Linked DNA regions of Homo sapiens: regions 2, 3 and 4 are each linked to region 1. The links are contacts of gene promoters, found by promoter capture Hi-C in blood cells and fetal thymus (Javierre and others, 2016). All regions are on one chromosome and are shown on one strand. Each heading gives the region's core, a stretch centred on a gene start or on the middle of the fragment in contact. The rest is flanking DNA. Distances are from core to core; before and after follow the strand shown.

The links. The method cuts DNA at HindIII sites, captures the fragments that hold promoters and counts their contacts. A CHiCAGO score of 5 or more calls a contact.
Region 2: a contact is called between a fragment that was not itself captured here and the fragment with the promoter of GALNT12 in region 1, in 1 of 17 cell types (activated CD4 T cells). The highest score is 6.5, in activated CD4 T cells.
Region 3: a contact is called between the fragment with the promoter of XPA here and the fragment with the promoter of GALNT12 in region 1, in 2 of 17 cell types (total B cells and fetal thymus). The highest score is 6.6, in total B cells.
Region 4: the fragment with the promoter of NR4A3 here is called in contact with the fragment with the promoter of GALNT12 in region 1 in 3 of 17 cell types (fetal thymus, non-activated CD4 T cells and naive CD8 T cells); the score reaches 5.9 in fetal thymus.

What each region holds. Positions count from the first base shown.
Region 1 is chr9:98,805,460-98,810,458 of GRCh38, forward strand. GALNT12 (polypeptide N-acetylgalactosaminyltransferase 12) reads left to right here and starts at 2,211. Exons shown (of 10, transcript NM_024642.5): 1 at 2,211-2,610. The coding sequence starts at 2,240. It overlaps LOC124902229 (a long non-coding RNA gene), which reads right to left and starts at 2,121. Exons shown (of 2, transcript XR_007061689.1): 1 at 1,312-2,121. RefSeq lists silencers at 2,093-2,182, 2,283-2,352. The HindIII fragment of the contact is 2,789 bases long and covers 1,180-3,968 here.
Region 2 is chr9:100,410,577-100,415,575 of GRCh38, forward strand. No RefSeq gene overlaps it. Among named protein-coding and RNA genes, the nearest start is that of MSANTD3, 14 kb to the right of the region's middle. RefSeq lists a silencer at 1,056-1,145. The HindIII fragment of the contact is 2,626 bases long and covers 1,268-3,893 here.
Region 3 is chr9:97,694,968-97,699,966 of GRCh38, forward strand. XPA (XPA, DNA damage recognition and repair factor) reads right to left here and starts at 2,373. Exons shown (of 6, transcript NM_000380.4): 1 at 2,154-2,373. The coding sequence starts at 2,325. It overlaps PTCSC2 (papillary thyroid carcinoma susceptibility candidate 2), which reads right to left. Exons shown (of 11, transcript NR_147055.1): 11 at 4,658-4,999. It also overlaps the pseudogene KRT18P13. RefSeq lists enhancers at 1,765-1,824, 1,835-1,884 and a silencer at 2,435-2,534. The HindIII fragment of the contact is 4,221 bases long and covers 1-3,957 here.
Region 4 is chr9:99,818,837-99,823,835 of GRCh38, forward strand. It overlaps NR4A3 (nuclear receptor subfamily 4 group A member 3), which reads left to right and starts at 3,049. Exons shown (of 8, transcript NM_006981.4): 1 at 3,049-3,571. LOC101928438 (a long non-coding RNA gene) reads right to left here and starts at 1,053. Exons shown (of 7, transcript NR_109802.1): 1 at 985-1,053. RefSeq lists enhancers at 177-770, 771-1,364, 3,767-4,279 and silencers at 712-1,261, 3,143-3,192. The HindIII fragment of the contact is 5,731 bases long and covers 1-4,071 here.

The DNA.
Region 1 (4,999 bases), core at 961-3,460:
ATTGAGCCGAGATAAGTAAAGCAACTTGCCTGAGGTCACACTGCAATTCGTGATGGGGCTGGGTTGAGCTCAGGCAAGTGGGCTCCAAGGTTGTGTTCCGACCTCCTAAGCTAAGCTGCCTTTGCATCTCATTGCAGCCTGCCCAACAGTGAGTGGTGTGGTGGGAAATCCTGGACTGTGAGTCAGGAGACCCAGATACAAATCCTCCCTCTACCGCTTGCATGTTGTGTAACCTTGGGCAAGTTGCTTCACTTCTTGAGCCTACATATTCTCATCTGTCAACCTTGCAAGGTTGTCATAGGGTGAAATGAGAAAGTACATGAAAAAGAAAGTCCAGCAGTTTACAGCACACAGTGTGTGCTCAGTAAACAATAGCTTTTATCTGTTACCTGGGGCTTAAGTCCATGTCTTGTAAGGCCTAATTGCATTTCTCTTTTCTCTGTATCTGAACCTCTATTGAGAAGCATTCCAATTTGGCAAGCGGATCCAAGACATTATGAATTGTAATCCTTGTCTGTTTTCTAATCTGACCGCAGATCTTAAATGTGTTGGGTGTCTGAACAGAGGCCAAAGGGCTCAGGTCCAGACCTACCTAACACAACCGCCTTCTGGCATTAACCAGCAGCCTCCATTCTGCGTGGGAAGCAGGCGGGGCCCTGAGCACTGTGGGAAGAGCCACTTCCCTCTAGTCTAATATTAGCAGCAGGTTGTCCTGAGTGGGAGCTGCTTTGCATGGTTCATCCCAAAACCCACCCCCCTCCTGCAACCTGAGGGAGATTTCCTCTGGGGATACCAGTAGCCAAAGGCTGTATGAAGACAACAGCAAGTCAGATTCTACCTCTACCTGAGCCGCCAAGTTCAAGGTCCTCTCCCCACCCTGTGTCTCAGACCCCGCATTTATCAATGAGATAATTGGACCAGATTTGTGCTTTTTAAACTTTCTGGGCTTCTGGTCTCCTTGAGAATATTTGATAAAAAGCTTTGGACCAACTTCCCATGGTAAAACAAACAACAACAAATAGAGCTTACACTCTATCCTTCTACAGGGGATACAGAATGATTCTTTTCCCTGAGCTAGACACCAGCAGAGGGAGTTCCAGATTAATTTAAGATATGATTTGAAATCTCTGCTATCACTTTTACATTCAGATATCTGTGTAGACATTACTTCATCAGAGAAGCTTTCCAAAACCCCCAAACTAGATCAAGTTCTACTATTCTAAGCCCTTTTAGCGCCCTGTAATTCTTCTTCAAAATACTTAACACAATTCTAATTATCTTTTTAATATTTGTCTACTCCATTAGACTTACTTCGTCCCTGGCAGCTCAAGGCTCCCACAGCAGTGATCTCATGAACAGGGCGGCAGCTTCATGGCCTTTTTTGGTTGTTGTTTAATAGAAACAGGATCTCGCTTTGTCATCCAGGCTGCAGCGCAGTGGCGCATAGTTCACGGTAACCTCCAATTCCTGGGCTCACACAATCCTCCTGCTTCAGCATCCTGAGTAGCTGGCACTATAGGCACGTGCCACCATGCATGGCTAATTCTGAAATTTTTCTGTAGAGATGGGAGTCTTGCTATGTTGACCAGTCTCGTTTTAAGCTCCTGGCTTCAAGTGATCCTCCTATCTCGGCCTGGGATTACAGGTGTGAACTATCATGTACAGCCTTCATGGCCTTTTGCTCCTAGCCTCAGAGGTCACAGAGCTATCACGAGGCGAGCCAGGCGAGGGTTTGCTATTCAAGGACTCCAAAGAGTATGGCAGAGGCTGGGCCTGCAGAAGTCAGTGGGGCAGCGTGGTGTCTGTTGATCTCATCGCACCTCCATCTCCTCATCTGTAAAAGGGAGCTCGTAATCCTAGTTGATGGTTGTTTTATTGGACTGTGTAAAGATCAGATGAGATAATGGCAGTAGAATTCATAACACCCTGCAGGGTGTATTCAGCCAACACTTAGCGCCTACAATATGCCAGGCGCTAAGGGTTTTACCACCACTATCTCTTTAATAATGCACCATAGCCCAAGAAGGAAGATGCAAGTCTCAGCCAGCCCACTTGAAGACCCTGCCGAAATGAGCCACCCCGGGGGCTGCGCTTGGGCTGGCGCGGGGCTGGACGGAAAGGGGGCGGCGCGCAGGTGGGGCGGGCCGGGGGCGGGGCGGCACGGCGGTTCCGGGATCCGGGTCCTGGCCTCCACCGCCGCCTTGGGGCGCGCAGATCGCTGGCTGCAGTTGGCGGGCGCATGTGGGGGCGCACGGCGCGGCGGCGCTGCCCGCGGGAACTGCGGCGCGGCCGGGAGGCGCTGTTGGTGCTCCTGGCGCTACTGGCGTTGGCCGGGCTGGGCTCGGTGCTGCGGGCGCAGCGTGGGGCCGGGGCCGGGGCTGCCGAGCCGGGACCCCCGCGCACCCCGCGCCCCGGGCGGCGCGAGCCGGTCATGCCGCGGCCGCCGGTGCCGGCGAACGCGCTGGGCGCGCGGGGCGAGGCGGTGCGGCTGCAGCTGCAGGGCGAGGAGCTGCGGCTGCAGGAGGAGAGCGTGCGGCTGCACCAGATTAACATCTACCTCAGCGACCGCATCTCACTGCACCGCCGCCTGCCCGAGCGCTGGAACCCGCTGTGAGTGCACAGCTCTGGGGAGGAAGCCCGCCCTCAGAGCCCCGGGCCTCAGTTTCTCCATCAGAGCAGTGGCAGGGCGGGGAGCTGGGGTCTCCAGGATGGCGCGTCTTATTGAGTCTTTCTCCGAAGACGATAGTGTAAGAGCTCACATGGGGGCGGGGAGGCAAGAAAGTAAAAAAGACGAAAGTAGAAAAAAAATTACCAGAAATTGGCAAGTCTGTTAGTGATCTCTTAGCTCCCTTCTCCTTGAGAAGTTATCATCTCCCTGAAAAGGTGAGGGTCAGGGCTAAGCAGAAGGGTTTAAGGCGAGGACCCCCCAGCACCCAAAGGACAACCCCGCTCTGCCCGCCTCGCAGTGCCTCCGCGAAACTGACAACTCCTCCGGGCGGTGACCGGCTCCATTCATTCTCTGTGTGTGCCAGGGCCTAAGGGACAAACAAGATGCGAGGGAGCGCCCCACAGGTGAAGCGAAAGATGGCTGTAAGGCCCCCTCAGCGCTAGAAAGCCTCCTTGTGCTCTCCCTGGGCATTGGATTTCTGAGCTTTGGGTGGAGGAAGGCGGGAAGGGGCACGGGGTGGGAAGGGCTCCTTCTGGCCGTGATCCACCCCAGCTCACTCCTGTGGGTGGTGCTGGACTGGAGCCAGCGTGGTCAGAGGCCTAGTTCCTGTTGGAGCTACTGGCTGGGCAGGTTGCGCCCCTGCCTAGGTGGGGATCCAGGGCACACGCTGGCAGCAGGAGGAAGGACAGGTGGCTGCTGCCACCTTTGCCGCTGGGCCTCCCGGGCTCTCACTTTTTCTTCGAAGTGTCAGGGATCTTCCAAGTCCTTTTTTGAGCCCCTTCCTTACAGACTTTGAGGAAAAGAGGACTCAGAGAGGGGGTTCCCATTGGAGCTGGTGGTGGCAGCCTGCCGTGTGCACCAGGCACCTGCCACTCCTCTCCCCTTCAAGCCATTCCTGCTTTACAGGTGTGGAAATAGGTTCGGAAAGGATAGGTGACCCACCCAAGGCCCCTCAGCTGGAATGTGGTAGGACTGGTCTGGAGGGACTATGGCCCTTCTGGCCCACTTGGCACCATGCTGATCTCAGGATTTTAGGGGCCTGCTCCATGGTACCTTGGCCAGAGAGACCATGAATGATGGAATGAGGATGCCCCACCTCTGCCCCACTGTTTCCACTGTCTTCCCTGTTTTGGGGATCTCCTCATGCCTAGCCTCATGCTTCTGCCTGAGGCATTTTTCACTGTTAGTCTTTTTGAATAAAACTTTGTTGGGATTGATAGTAGTTCCTCCACTCACCAGCCTAACGCATGTTTAGCTCCTCGAAACCCCGAGGGTGCCCGCTGAGGCAAGGTGGAGGGGAAGCTTTCAGGTTATACCCAGCTTCAGATTAAATCCAGCCCAGGGGAGATAAAATCCTGGTTCTTTTGCTCGTCACTTCTGTGATCTCTGGCAAGCTGCTTAGCCTCTCAGAGCCTTGGTTTCCCTTCGTTTGCGAAATAGGAAACTCATAAAAGTGAGTCTCCATGCATTCTACATAAAAGTGAGTGGAAAGAACACAACTTAGGAATTAATAAAGCATCAATACCTGGGAGCACACTGTGTGCTTAAATCTTAGTTTTTTCACCTTTCCCTGTTGCCAAGAATGTACTCAAGAGGTTGCTTTTGAGAGTCATCCAGGGATTGGTTGTAGTTTTTCTTTCCTGGATCCAACTTCCTTTATTGTCGCAGGTTGTGAATATCTCTTTGAAACACTGTGGACAATCTGTGGGGCTTATGGTAACCTGTCTCCATGGTGACGCAGCTGCCCTGTGTCCTCTCAGGATTTGCTTGTAGATCCTGCTGTTGCATTGACCCTGGAAGTTAAGCCAAACCCAGCATGATAAGGAGTGTGAATGCCTCCTGCTTCTAATTCCTGCAGCAAGGCCTGTTGGGTTATTCTTACCCAGCCAGAGAGAAAGGTGAGCCTGAGCTGTGTGGGTCTCTGTTGGGCCAGGCTTTGAGATGTAACTTCAGAGTGGTCAGTAGGGTCAGGGTATTTTGTGGCATCTCACTTTTATTACAGTTCATCCAGGAGCTAATCAGGGTCTTGAGATTTTGCCTGAGAAACCTGAATGGCAGATCATAAGTTCACAGTGTGGGTATGGGGTTCTCTGCGAGTCTAATAAACAGAGGGATAATGAGGGTCCTTGAATGTTGCAGGAGGGAGGGCCCTGAGGGAGGAGCATCTAGTCTAACCAGAGAGGAAAAGCCACACCCCCAGGTCACATAGCACATCTCAGGCAGAGCCACAGTCCATATCTGTTACTCGTTCCTCCCTTTTTGGGTGGGGATGATTATTTCTATGTTTATTTTAATTATGAAAGCAATGCATATTCACTCTAGAAATGTTGG
Region 2 (4,999 bases), core at 1,331-3,830, 1.6 Mb after region 1:
TGAACAATGAGAACAGAAACCATTTCTACAATTTAACACTTGTTAAGCAATCAGAGGAGTGGTAGGTGTCAGGAGGAAGAACTGGGAGAGAGAGGTTAGAGGACTGACATGAAGCAGACATTGAGGAAAGAGGAATTTATGCAATAATGGCCCAGGTTGCTGCAGATGTGAGAAAATATTCAACTTTTGAGAAAACATAATAGAAAAAAAATAGTTTGGCACAAAAATACAAATAAGCAAGCAAAACAAAATTACTACTTTTCTTCCCCTCCCTCCCCCACTCCCTTTTCTCTTTCTCTGTCCCTGGGGACCAGCGTTAAGGATCAATGGTCTGCCTTCGACAGTCCCCATCCCTAGCTATTTGCTCCTTTGTTGAGTGCCCCCTTTCCTCACCTTATCTTATGAAAAGCGTTCCAACCCTCCTAGACTGTGAGCTCCTAGAAAGCGGACTTAGCCTATTTTTGTATGCTATATATCACATAGCCTACTGTACAGAGTAGCTGCTCATTTGTGTTTCTTATATTGAGGTAAATCTGAATCTTACCTGGGCCAAACTCTGCGTTAGGATCTGGGTATTCAACTGTCAGGGGACTCAAGTGTGAGCAAGACCTTGTCTCTACCATCCTAGATCATACAGTCTTAGGAGGACATTGACACTAAAAAAGGCCATTACATGACCCTCAGATGAATGCGCATGGGGTAAGTACGGGTCCTCTGGATAACAGAGGAGCATGGAATGGTAACCCTAGAGACAACCTGGTGCCATTCCTGCTAGATACCGACATCTCCTATATGAATTTTGGTGGTGGGGTGAGGGGATAGGGAAATGGGGGCTGTGAGCAAGGAGGGAGGTTCCAGGAACATCTTTCACATCCCCTAGTCCCCATTTCCTTCATGAACTGCTGTATCCATCAAGTGCGGGTACGCAGGGAGCACAGTCGTTGTGCCAGGTGGGTGCCAGCACACAGCAGTCATTGACATTGTACAGACTTCTGGAGTAAATGGAGGGATGGATGAAACACTTGTGCAATCGAAATTTTTGCGACTCCTTCCATTTGACAAGTACGGTCCACGCCATTCATTCCCCAACCCAAAGCCCGCGAAGCCCCGCAGCTTACACAGAGGCCCCGCCCAACCGCCCCGCTCTGCGCGCTCCCTCAGCTCCAGCGCAGCAGCTCTGGGAGACACGCTGAACGGTAGTCAAGTTCCGGGTCACAGTGCGCTTGCGTAGGAGGAGCCAGTGGCGAAGAAGGGGAGGAGCTCGCGAAGCTTAGACTGCAGTGACGAGGAAAACGTGGATGGGATAGGAGCAGGAAAACCTCTAGGGCTCTGTGGGGTTAGCGCTCTTGGGGCCGTTTAGTGGGTGTCCCGGGGGTACTCAAAGAGAACCCGTCAGAGACTGACCTTAGTTTACACACGATGCGTCTTTTACTGCTCACATCGAGTCTATTGATTTTGCTTTTTTTTTTTTTCAATTACTTTAGTGGTCAAGAATTGCTGCTTTGCAGTGAGACAGATCCAGATTCCAGTGTCTGGTGTGACTGTGTGTGGCCTTGGGCAAGTTATCTGTCCAAGTTTCAATCGCTACCTGTATCAAATGTAGTTGATTGTAGTTGTGTGCATCACAGGGATTTTGTGAAGATTAAATGACGTCGTATGTATCAAGGGCTTAGCGCACTGCCTGGTACGCAGAAAAAGCCCAGTAAATGGCAAGTGCTATTATAACCATTATCATGAGGTTGGAGGATCGCTTGAGCCTGGGAGGTTGAGGCTGCAGCGAGCAGTGATCGCCCCACTGCCCTCCAGCCTGGGCAACAGAGTAAAACCCTGAAAAAACAAAACAAACAAACAAAAGCCCGGGGGAAACAAATCAAATGTCCCCGTATAAATGATAAACAAAATGTGGTATATACGGAACCTTATTCAGCCTTTAAAAAGAGTGAAATTCTGATGCAAGTTACAACATGGACAAACCTTGAAGACACTATGCTAAGTGAAAAAAAACATACACAAAAGAACACATGTTGTATGATTCCAGTTACATGAAGTATCTGGAATAGTCAAATATTATACACAAAGACAGATGAATAGAATAATGGTTACCTGAGGCTGCAGGTAGGGCAGAAATGAGGAGTTAGTGTTTAACAGGTGCAGAGTTGAGGATGATGAAAACGTCTGGATGGATGGTGAAAATGGTTGCACAGCCATGTGAATGCACTTAATGCCACTGAACTGTACACTTAAAAATGGTTAAAATGGGCCGGGCGCAGTGGCTCACGCCTGTAATCCCAGCACTTTGGGAGGCCGAGGCGGGTGGATCACGAGGTCAGGAGTTCGAAACCAGCCTGACCAACGTGGTGGAACCCCGTCTCTACTAAAAATACAAAAATTGGCTGGGCGTGGTGGCGCGCACCTGTAATCCCAGCTACTCAGGAGGCTGAGGCAAGAGAATCGCTTGAACGCGGAAGGCAGAGGTTGCAGTCAGCCGAGATCGCGCCACTGCACTCCAGCCTGGGCGACAGAGCAAGACCTCAAAACCAAAACAAAACCAAAAAATGGTTAAAATGGTAAATTTTATGTATATTTTACCACACAAAGAAAAGGAGAGGAAAGAAGCCCAGGAGCAGGCAGCGCACAGCGGGAGTGCATGGCAGCTCAGCTCAACAATGCTCTCAGGCGCTTAGGGTCCTTCTATCTTTCAGTTTACCACTCCCAGCATGTGACTTTTGTCCTTGTGGTCATAAGATGATTGCTGCTTCTCGAGGAATTGTGTGCATGTACTAGATAAGAAAAGCCAAAAGTCATCTTCTTGTGAAGTTTTATATTTTCATTCAAGAAAAGGAGCCTAAGGGAATACCCGCCTGCTACTCATTGACAGGAATTTTATCAAGTTGACCTCTCAACAGGAGTCTGGGAAAGTTACTTTTCAAGTGTCTAAAGTATAGAATGGCACAATAAAGGGGAGCTGTGAGGTCCCCCTTATCATGCCATTCTATAGATACTTGAAAGGTAATTTCAAGTATCTAAAGTATAGAATTTTCAAGTACAGAAAATTTGAGGCCGGATGTGGTGGCTCATGCCTGTAATCCCAGCACTTTGGGAGGCCAAAGTGGGCGGATCACCTGAGGTCAGGAGTTTGAGACCAGCTTAGCCAATATAGTGAAACCCCATCTCCATTAAAAATACAAAAAAATTAGCCGGGCATGGTGGTGCGAGCCTGTGGTCCCAGCTGCTCCGGCGGCTGAGGCAGGAGAATCGCTTGAACCCGGGAGGCGGAGGTTGCAGTGAGCCGACATCGCGCCACTGCACTCCAGCCTGGGAGACAGAGAGAGGCTTTGTATCAAAAAAAAAAAAAAAAAAAAAAAAAAAAAGGAAGAAAATTTGAGTAGCCAAATTTTCAGGGAATGTCCCACAAACATAGAGGTTTATTTTGCTTTTTTCCATAAATGTGCTTATACTGCATATTATTTTTTGCAACTTGCTATTTTTTCTTAGCAATATGAATTAGAATTCCTCAGTTCCTTTAGCTGCTGCAAAATACTCTTGTTTCTAAGGCACACTTTTTTATTCACATTTTATGATCTCTCAGATTGGTATGCATCTTACAGTTGCTGTCAGCTAGCAAGGCAGCAATAGTGATGTGGTTGTCATTGCCTGCTGGGTATGCATCAAAACTTGCAGAATGGAGGTTAGCAGCCTGGCATATTGATGATTCTGAGTCTAAACATTATACAGAAGGTTCAGACTCTGAGAAGAGGATTTAGCTATATGGTAATCAATTTATTTCATGAATCCTTTTAATTTATGCATAAGGATAATATGGAACTAAAGATGTCTTAAGCCTTAATTAGCTTTTTCAATAAGTATAAAATAAAAATTATAAATGGCAAGAAAGCTTTGTGTCATAGCTTAATTAGGATCATTTTTCTTTCTTAATGATGTATGAAATAACGAAGGCTATAGCGGGTCACATCCTCGAGTTAATGAAATACAGTGTTCTTTTTTTTTTTTTTGAGACCGAGTCTCGCTCTGTGGCCCAGGCTGGAGTGCAGTGGCGCGATCTCGGCTCACTGCAAGCTCCGCCTCCCGAGTTCACGCCATTCTCCTCTCTCAGCCTCCTGAGTGGCTGGGACTACAGGCGCCCGCCACTACGCCCGGCTAATTTTTTGTATTTTTAGTAGAGACAGGGTTTCACCGTGTTAGCCAGGATGGTCTCGATCTCCTGACCTCGTGATCCGCCCGCCTCTGCCTCCCAAAATGCTGGGATTACAGGCGTGAGCCACTGCGCCCGGCCGAAATACGGTGTTCTAAATATGACTATTCCATAGCTTATTTAATCATTTCCTTTTTGATAGAAGTTAGGTTTAATGATGCTTTAGGAAACCCTTGTGCATGCCCTTTTTTGCATATGTGAAAGTAGTCGTTCTCTAGATACCTAGGAATACACATTTTAACATTCTGAGAGCAACTGCCCTTTAAAAAGCTCCTATCGATTTACACTTCCATGAAAGAACCCATTTTTTCCAAACAGTTTTACATTTTGGTCAATCTGGTATCTGAAAATAGTACATCATTGTTTTGATTTTGTCTTTTAGTGTTGTTAAGGGTGTCTATAACATAGAAGCCAATTTTTAAAAATCAACTTTTTATTTTTGTGTAGTTTTAGATTTACAGAAAAACTGTGAAGATAGAACAGAGTACTCCTATATATCCCACACCTAGTTTCTCTATTGTTAATATCTTACATTAGAATGGTATCTTTGTCACAATCAATGAACAAATATTGATACATTATTATTAACTAAAGCCCATATTTTATTCAGATTTTCTTCATTTTTGCCTAATGTCCTTTTTCTGTTGGACAGTCCCATTCGAAATAGCACATTAAATGTAATCATCATGTCTTCTATACCCCTCTTGGTTGTGAAAATTTCTCAGACTTTTATTGTTTTTGATAGCCTTGATGTTTTCAGGAGTACTAATTAGGTATTTTGTAGAA
Region 3 (4,999 bases), core at 1,123-3,622, 1.1 Mb before region 1:
TACTATGTTGCGCAAAAAAAGCCAGATACTGTATGACTCAATGTACATGAAGTTTGGAAATAGGTAATACCAATCAAATGGTCAGAAGAGTATTACTTCTGAGAGTAGAGAGTGGACACCGACTAGGAAGGCGCAATAGGAAAACTTCTAAGGTTCCGGAAGTGTACATGTCTTGATCACGATGGTGTTTACACAAGCATTCACATAGGTAAAATTCAGATGAGTACATTTTACAGTATGTTACACCTCCATTTATTAAGACAGATTAATATGTTTTATTCTGCTACAGTCACTCCCCTTCTCTGGCCTCAATTTCTCCCTCTATTAAATGAAAGGATTAGATTATAAACTTGTTTCCACTGTTAACAGCAATTCTCACACTATAATGCCTGTTCATCTCTCTGTATCCCTTCATTAGACTGAGTGCCTTTACTTGTATACTTCTGACAAATAGTAAACATTCCATGAGTACCAACTGGATGGATAGAAATGAATGAACCTACCAGAATATGTAATATAAATAGCAAAGTAAATGAATGGAATGACAGTAAACACAATGAGAATTAAGAAGAGGGAAAGCTGGAGTAGTCGAGCCCATGACTTGAGCAGGATCCTAAACAATGCTAACTCATGCCCAAAACAAAGTCCGATTTCTCTCTGCTGCTATGCCTTGCTGTTTCCCCAGGACCTTAGCACCACTCTTCGTATTCTAAGCAAGTTTTTTCAGTCTTTCATGGCATATGTCATGGCACACAGAGAAAAAGAAAATTGTATAGTACCATGAAATAAAAGTGTCACAAAGATAAAAATCTCAGCACTTACCTAACTCTTGAAACATGGTGGGTTGTACACAATGCTACAATACAGTTCAGTTCTTGGGGAACTGCCTAAGAAATCTTAAAGAATGTTCATTCTACCTTGCTTTCCATGATCAAAAGTTTAATTTAATGTCAGTTTTTGCTATTTTGCACCTTCCGTTCCACAGCCATGTCGTAGACCTGGAAACCTTTATGGAATCATGACTATGAATTAATCAGTGCAAATGAACTTTCTGTCTGACTCTAGCGTGCCTCAAGTTTAGAAAGGAATAAAAGGTAACCACTATAAAGTAGAAAGGATGAGACCAGTACCATCAAAAGTAGCTGGAATTTGCAGTTTCGGTGTTAGTATGAACATCAAGACATGCTGCCAGCCTCAGACTCTTCTCACTCTCACTACATCTGGCTGATAAAAAAGAGTAATACAGCTCTAAACTGTGCTCGACAAAGGGCAGTATAGAGCTTTAGGAACACATGTACTTCATGTTATAGAGGCAGCCCTGAAGAACTGCCTGTCAACCAAACTATATTTTAAGTATCCTGTTAAAGATTATTAGTTGACCCCAGTGGCAAATTCTATAAGAGAATAATCTGCAATGAGAGATCAGTCCTTAATTTACTTCAATCAATAAACACGTTTTGAGCAACTAGTTTTTGCCAAGAAATCGCAGAGGTCACATGTCCAAGAAATAGACTCATGGAATCTATGGATTAGAATCTTAAAGGTTTACTATCCAGTCCCTTCTTCTGATTGCTGAGTAGGAGATTCTGATTGCTGAATCTCCTCTCCTCCACATAAGTAAGCGTTCTTCCAGTTCCTATTTGAGCGCTTCTAGTAACGGGAAGCTCATGAGAAGCAATCCATTGCACTTTTGGCAACTCTAATTGTTGAAAGCTCTCCCTAACAAACACCAAGATCTGCCTCTTCCATCAACTAGTTCTAGGTATAGAGGCCAGAATCAAGAACTAGTCTAACTCCTCTTTCCGGGACAGCTGAGGCCCTGACACCTGGCAGTGGCTGACACCTCCCGGCCGGGGCGGCTGCATCCCTAAACGAAAAATCGAAGCTGCCAGCAGCCGAGGTGCAGCGAAGAAGGCCCGGGGCTGGGGGTCAGGAGGCCCGCGTGCGACAGAGGAACGCTCTGTGGTCGTGGACAGGACGCTTTGACAAGGCGGCTGGCTGGGCGGATTCCCTCTCCGACTCGGGGAGAATCTGCACACATACGCCAGCGGAGTTGACGCGACCCCCGGGCCCCGGGACTCGGCTTGCACGAGCCAGTCTGGGGACCGGGGAGGCGGGGAGAGGGAAGGGGAAAGCGCGGACGCGGCCCAAACCTCCAGTAGCCGCAGCCGCCGTCGCCGAGTAGGGCCGGGCAGCCAGCCGGGCCTGGCGCAGCATCAGTGCCCGCTGCCGCTTCCGCTCGATACTCGCCCGCACCGAGGCAGGCAGCTCCGCGGGTTGCTCTAAAGCCGCCGCCTCCGGCAAAGCCCCGTCGGCCGCCGCCATCTCTGGCCCACTCCGAGGACCTAGCTCCCAGCTCCACGCACGCGCACTGCACGCCGAGGCGAGCCAGCCGCCCTGCACCGCCTCTGCGCTCCCCGCACCCAGCGGCCTTTCTGAGTGAGAGCGCCTGCGCAGTTAAGGGGCTCGGGGTGGCCTGCCCGGGCGCTGGGCGGAGTCTGGGTATGCGCGGACACGGAGTACCCGCCTAACTACCTGCTCTCTTGTCATCCGGGAGAAGGGTCCGTGCTGAGATCATATCTCACGACCTGGTCACCTTTAAAATAGGTCTCGCTTGGTGATTCAGAGTATAGGCTTTGGAGTCAGGCCTGGGTTAAGTCTGAGCTCTTGACAGTTAAAGTCTGTGTGACCTTGGGCAAGTTATTTAACCAGAGTTCAGTTTCTTCAGTGGTAAAATGAGGATAATTATGGAACCATTTACCGAGTCTTTGGGAGGATTAGATTGCCAGGACAATAACCTGGCACGTAGAAGACCTCAAAAAATGGTAACAGTGAGTAGTAGTAGTGCCAGTCATAGAGCCCAACAGATGATAGTCCTGATTTTATGTTGGATACACGGCCTAGAGACACAGCCTTAGATTTAAAATGAGAAGACCTGGGTTGAAACTCCCAGTTAACTTGCTGTGTGACCTCAGGCAAATGCAGGACTTGCTCCAAGGCTGATATGCATAAGGTTGGCTATCTTTCCCATGGAATATTCCTTCAGTGAGGATGAGCTACTGCCAGGTAGACAGTGGGTTTGGATCTGGGCCAAATATCCTGACTTCCCAAAAGTGTGGCTAGTGTAACAAAAGAAACATAGCAGGCTTTCCCAAAAATGTATGCTTTCCCTTTGTTACAAATAATGCTTAATTGAAACCAGAAAACATTAACTTCTAATTACTACATGTACCATTTAGGACTGGCTTTTAGAAAGACAACCTCACACACTGATGTTTCCCACTAATGTTCAATGGTTAACCTTTCAGAAACACAATTCAGTGTTCTAATTTATCGGTCATATATACATAAAGCTGCAAAACCTCGTATAAAGCAGTTACCTGCTGAAATCTTAGGTTGAATTGGAGATAGAATCTCAAGCCATCCCCATCTCCCTTCCCCTCAGATCCTTCTTTCTCCCTACCCATCAATCTTGCCCAGGTGAAACTATTTCAAATTCCATAACATCAAAAGCACAAGCAACAAAAGAAAAAAAGCTGGACTTCATTAAAATTAAAAACTAGGCTGGGCACAGTGGTTCACACCTGTAATCTCAACAGTTTGGGAGGCCAAGGCAGGAGGATGACTTGAGGTCATGAGTTCAAGACAAGCTGAGGCAACACAGTGAGACCCTGTCACTATTAAAAAATAATAATAATTGGCAAGGTGCAGTGGCTCATGTCTGTAATCCCAGCCCTTTGGGAGGCCAACACAGGAGGATTGCTTGAGACCAGGAGTTCAAGACCAACCTGGGCAATGTAACAAGAACCCATCTCAGGAGGTCAAGGCTGCAGTGAGCTGTGATGGCACCACTACACTCCAGCCTGGGCAACACAATAACATCTTGTCTCAAAAAAAAATTAAAGTCGTCGGCAAAGCCTGAGTCCTGTCCTCTCACTCTCCTCCCTGGACAGCATAAGCTTCACCACTCGCTCCACCTTCTCCACCAACTACCGGTCCCTGGGTTCTGTCCAGGCACCCAGCTACGGTGTCCGGCTGGTCAGCAGCATAGCCAGCGTCTGTACAGGCACGGGGGCTCTGGTTCCCGGATCTCCATGTCCCGCTCCACCAGCTACCTGAGCAGCATGGGTTCCGGGGGCCTGGCCGCGGGGATGGCCAGGGGTCTGGCAGGAATGAGAGGCATCCAGAACAAGAAGGAGACCGTGCAAAACCTGAACAACTGCCTGGCCTCCTACCTGGACAGAATGAGGAGCCTGGAGGCCAAGAACTGGAAGCTGGAGAGTAAAATCCAGGAGCACCTGTAGAAGAAGGGACCCCAGGTCAGAGATGAGCCATTACTTCAAGACCATTGAGGGCCTGAGGACTCAGATCTTCACAAATACTGTGGACAATGCCTGCATTGTTCTGCAGATTGACAATGCTGGTCTTGCTGCTGATGACTTTAGAGTCAAGTATGAGACAGAGCTGGCCATGCGCCAGTCTGTGGAGAGCCACATCCATGGGCTCCGGAGGTCACTGATGACACCAGTGTCACTCGGCTGCAGCTGGAGACAGAGATCGAAGCTCTCAAGGAGGAGCTGCTCTTCATGAAGAAGAACCACGAAGAGGAAGTAAAAGTGTTGTACCCGAGCGAGTTAAAAAAACGCCACACTTTGAGATGAATTAAGAGTCCTTTATTAGCCGGCGACCGAGAGACGGCTAACGCTCAAAATTCTCTCGGCCCCGAGGAAGGGGCTTGATTAACTTTTATACCTTGGTTTAGAAAGGGGGGGTCGTCTAGTTAAAACAATTTTACAGAAGTTAAGTAGTCAAAAAGTTAAAAGGATAAATGGTTACAGGAAAGTAAACAGTTCCAGATGCAGGGGCTTTAAGACTATTACAAGGTTATAGATGCAGGGCTTTGGGCGTTATCAAACAGATGAATTCTTGGGGACTGTGGATATAGCTTGCCACAGTATCTTATCAGTTAATTGCATTCTTGGATGTGCTGGGAGTCAGC
Region 4 (4,999 bases), core at 1,799-4,298, 1.0 Mb after region 1:
TCCAGAAGACACACCCACTCAAAGAGAGGAAACTTTGCTTGGAGGTTCTCAGCCAGGGAGAAGAGTTTTTTTGTTTTGTTTTGTTTTAAATTTAGGTAAACAAGGATACTGCTTTGAAACGGTCACTGGAGCCCAACTCATATGAACAATTTAGCAGCTTTATAACAACCCTGAGTGGGCAAGGACCTTTCATACATATTAACATTTAGAAAATGTAGTTTATTGAATAAATTCATTGAAAGATGTCATGTTTCCTAAAAACTGTACCTAATTTTAGGGTTCCTGCTTACAGTGATTCCAGTTCTACATGAGAGTTTTAATTGAAGGAGGATTAGGGGGGTGAGGGAGGTGCAGAACACAAATGAAATTTTTACAGCATGGAAATAAAAGTATTTTTAAATCTTCTTGGGGGTGAAGAGTTAGGCAAGAAGTAATACGTGGAAACTGTCAAGTGCTTCTCTACACATCCACCCACCAGATACCATCGCAGCCGGCTGGGGGAGTCTCCCTCTTCTTGCCTGACAGCTTCACTTTCTTTGAGATCTGGAGCTGGTGATCACACTGGCCCGTCATGGTATTTTCAGTTAACAAAGCAGTTACTCAACGGGGCAAAAAGCCACAAAGGAGCAGAGCAGCTGCTGCTGCACCCGTGATGCAAGTGCAGGATGAGCCCCGGGCCGCCACCGCCGCCTCGGCTCCTCCGTGACGTCCGGGAAGGGTATCCCCGGCACTCAGGAAGTGGTGGCCGCGGGCAGCTCCGCCCCCACGCGACTCGGGGCTGGCCGAGCTGCCGGGTGGTAGAACCGCCGGGCCTTCCGCAGGGCGGGCGGGGATCACCGTCTCCCCACCTCCGTGCGCACACACATGCACGGGCCTCGCGCCCCGCTGTCGCCCGCGCCTCGCCCTGCTCACTTCTCACAGCCCGCGCCGGACGAAGAGAGCCGCCAGCGCCCCCCCTCTCTCCCACGGCTCGCACCCACTCACCCCGACCCCCGGCGCCGAGCCCGGCCCCTCGTCGCCGGTCACCAGACCTGGTCGAACCGAGTCCAAGATGGCGACTCCGCCCCCGCCCCCTCCGCACTCCCGGCGGGGTCAGGGCGCCCCCTCACGCGGCGGGCTCGCGCCCGAGACCCGGCTAAAAATAGCCAGGCCCGACTATATTTGGTTCGGCCGGATCCTGGCGCGGCCGCGCGCTCCCCGCCCCGCCCCGCCCCGCCCCGCGCGCCCTGCCCCGCCCCGCGCGGCGTTGAATGGAGAAGGGGCGGGGGTGACCGAGGGGAACCTACTCCGCTATCTGCGGCGCGCGCCGGCGGCGGGTCCCGGCCAACCGCCGAATTTAGTAACATCGCCTGCGTCAATCACGCGCCTCGCGTGCGTCAGCGCCGCGCGGCTCCAGGTCCTGCTCCCCCCCTTCAAGCCTTTGAATGGATACAATGTAGCAGCGCCCTCCTTCCTTCCGAGGCTGGATTGGAACCCGCCGCAGTGCAGAGACTCGGTTGCTCTCGGCTGGGTCAACTTTCGGGGCATTCTCCCACGATCCTCTCCGCACCACCGTGTCTGAATTGGAAGTGGAGGCGAAGAAAGATATACATGCCATATTTACCTATATGTAGTTTGTTTTCAAGTTTCTGGTCCTAGCTCGAACCTTCTTCGATTCTGAAATGTGTGCTGTCTACAAAGGAATCTTGTATCTCCCCTCGGCGCAGCGCCCCCCGCCCCCGCCACACACACACAAATTGGGACAGGTCAAACATATAAAACGGTATTTGTGATTCAAGCGGACCACATGGGGACCACTCTATCTGCATTGTTTCACTCAAATATTTTCTCCTGTCCAAAAATTCATTTCTGAAAGAGACTGCGTTCACTCAGCAGCAACCTTTGGGACTAGGGGTCTTTAACTCTGATAAATTTTGTTTTCATCAAGAAATTTACACTTAAATTTATCATTTCCAGGAAGAAATTGCTCTCCTTCATACAGTCACCCAGGCTTTCGGCACACCATTTCATGACAAATGTGTCCGAGGAGACCAAAGCAAATCCCCTAGCGAGGGACTGACTAATAAGTCCTGTTGATTGATTTCGAAATGTTTAATTTGGGAGATGTGGGCGGAGGGCATCTACAACCATCAAAAAGTGAAAGTGCTAGTTGAGAGTTCCATTTCTGACCCGGTGCCGGGGAGGAGGAATGATTTGCAATAGTCAGACCCGCTCAGCTGTTCAACACGTGTGTGTTTGTTTTACACACAGAGTAGTTTCTGCTGCAGCGCGCGTGTGCATGATGGATGTGCACTTCGCTGGGTTATAACGTGTCCAGTTAAGAAACCCACGCCGTACGTGTAAAGAAATCAAACCTTATCCCCGGAACCATCTGCATCCCTGTGTGAAACACGCACCCAGTAAATGATGCGGGGAGGGGGGATTAGCCTGGGCGCAGAGGACCGGAGCAACGTAAACAGCTTTAGAACCTATGCAAGAGGAAAGTGCAGCTGCACCTCAGGGCGTCTTCGGGCTGGTGCCAGACGCCTTCTGCACCGGCTGCCAGGTCACTGGAGCTGGTCAGAAGCTGGCTGGCGGAGCCTTCCCTTTCGGAAGAGCTGTCCTCTCCCTTACCCCCCTCGCCCTGGCTCCGTGCCTCGGGGCAGCCTCGGAGGCGCGCCAGCAGCACTCCTCCAACTCTACTCCACCCGAGCCTGACAGCTGGGCGGTCCCGCCTGACCCGTGGGCAGGCCGCTGCACCCTCCCGCAGACGCACGCCCTGGCGAGCGGTTCCGCTGCAAAAAGAGAAGCCCCCAGGCCGGGGCCGGCCGTGCGGCGGAGTTTCCATTGTGCGGCCGTGCGACTGGCCGAGGAACGCGCGCGCGCGCGCGCGCACACGAACACACACACCCTCCCTCGCACACGCGGAACCGGCTGGGCCAGGGGAGGGAGGAGGAGGGTGACGTAGCGTCCCATGGCGTCACATTGACGTCTCGCATTCCAGGCACTCTATGGAGAGGCCGCTAGGGCTCCTGTGGCATAAATGACGTGCCGAGAGAGCGAGCGAACGCGCAGCCGGGAGAGCGGAGTCTCCTGCCTCCCGCCCCCCACCCCTCCAGCTCCTGCTCCTCCTCCGCTCCCCATACACAGACGCGCTCACACCCGCTCCCTCACTCGCACACACAGACACAAGCGCGCACACAGGCTCCGCACACACACTTCGCTCTCCCGCGCGCTCACACCCCTCTTGCCCTGAGCCCTTGCCGGTGCAGCGCGGCGCCGCAGCTGGACGCCCCTCCCGGGCTCACTTTGCAACGCTGACGGTGCCGGCAGTGGCCGTGGAGGTGGGAACAGCGGCGGCATCCTCCCCCCTGGTCACAGCCCAAGCCAGGACGCCCGCGGAACCTCTCGGCTGTGCTCTCCCATGAGTCGGGATCGCAGCATCCCCCACCAGCCGCTCACCGCCTCCGGGAGCCGCTGGGCTTGTACACCGCAGCCCTTCCGGGACAGCAGCTGTGACTCCCCCCCAGTGCAGATTTCGGGACAGCTCTCTAGAAACTCGCTCTAAAGACGGAACCGCCACAGCACTCAAGTACGTATGAGATTCGCCCAGTTAATAAGGGGACTTGCTAAAAAAGTTGGCTTGCTGGGAAGCGTCGCTCCTGAAATTGACAACTTTGAGTGTGGGGTTCCCTCCCCTGACCTTGCCGCCCGGCTCCGGCTTTGCTAGCCCAGCGGCCCGTAGGTTCTGATCTGAAACTTTTCCCCTGTAGTGGGCCCGCGGGGATCTCTGGAGCTCGTGGGATTCCTCCCCCCACTCGAAGAGGCGAAAAGCCTCTAACAAAGAGGAGGACCGGGATTTGTGCTATAGCGGCTCCAGCGATGTAATTCAGGGTATTTCGGCTCTAGTTGTCATGGTAATGATGCTCTCGGCGGCGGCGGCGGCGGCGGCAGCGGCAGCGGCAGGGAGTTGCAGCTCCGGTGATGAACGGCAGTAATTTTCCTGCCTTTTAAGTAGGATTGAAAATAGGAGCTCTGGTGGGTCCAAGTAAATGTTGCTAATGGTGGCACCGAGCTGGTTCTCTGGAAGGAAGCTTAGGAGGGAAGGGCCTAGGCAGCGACGGCCAGAGTTTGCAGACGCACTCGGAGGACCTCAGGAAAGAGGGCGTAATTGTAGGAATGTGGCTTATTGTATTGAAATGAGCCTGGGGTTCCACTAGGCACGTCTGCCTGTCGTCGCTGACATGCCGGTTTACACTTTTCCCTTAGGAGGTAAATCGGGTGTAATTGGCGACTCCCGCACACTGACACGTGTGGGGACGGTGTCCCTCTCCTCTGGACGTTGGCTCGGTGTGGGAAAGGCATGCTTTTTCACGGACAGAACTCGCGCTTTTGGAGAAGTTGCTCCGAGTGTTTTACTCTTAGTAGAAATGAAAGTTCTCGGTGGTGAGACGAGAGCGGTCATGCGAGCGCAGCCTGCGGAGACTGACTTCCAAAGGCACCTCTCCAACCTGTTGGAAGCCTCGGGGCAGTGGTGAGGAAGAACGCATTTGTCCCTTGATTTCCAAAAACGTTCTTGGAGATTGCCTTTTATTTATTTATGCGTCCGGATTCTCCAGAGGGAAGAGCTGCGAGGAGTTAGTAATCAGAAATGTCGGGCTGTGATCCCAGGGCCTTGTGGTGCTGGGAGAGAAGAACAGGGAGCCGTCATTCCATCGCGAGTCCAGTGCCGGATCTCCTTTTCCCACGACCGGGAAATATTTTATAGAATCAAGTTAGGGAAAGAAAAAGCTGCCTAACGTGGCTGATGGGCACAATGAATGAAGTTACTTTATTCGAGTTATTTTCGCTGAACAAGATGCTCGCAGAGTTAGTATCAAAGCCTCCTTAGGCCACAGCAACCTCCACGTCCGCTCCGCCCCCCACCCCCCGGCACCCATCCACCCCTTTGCCTGGGACCGTGCGCTCACAGAAATTCTTCCCCGCGGTTTGTCTAGTCTCCCTCGGTCTTTCTGAGAAT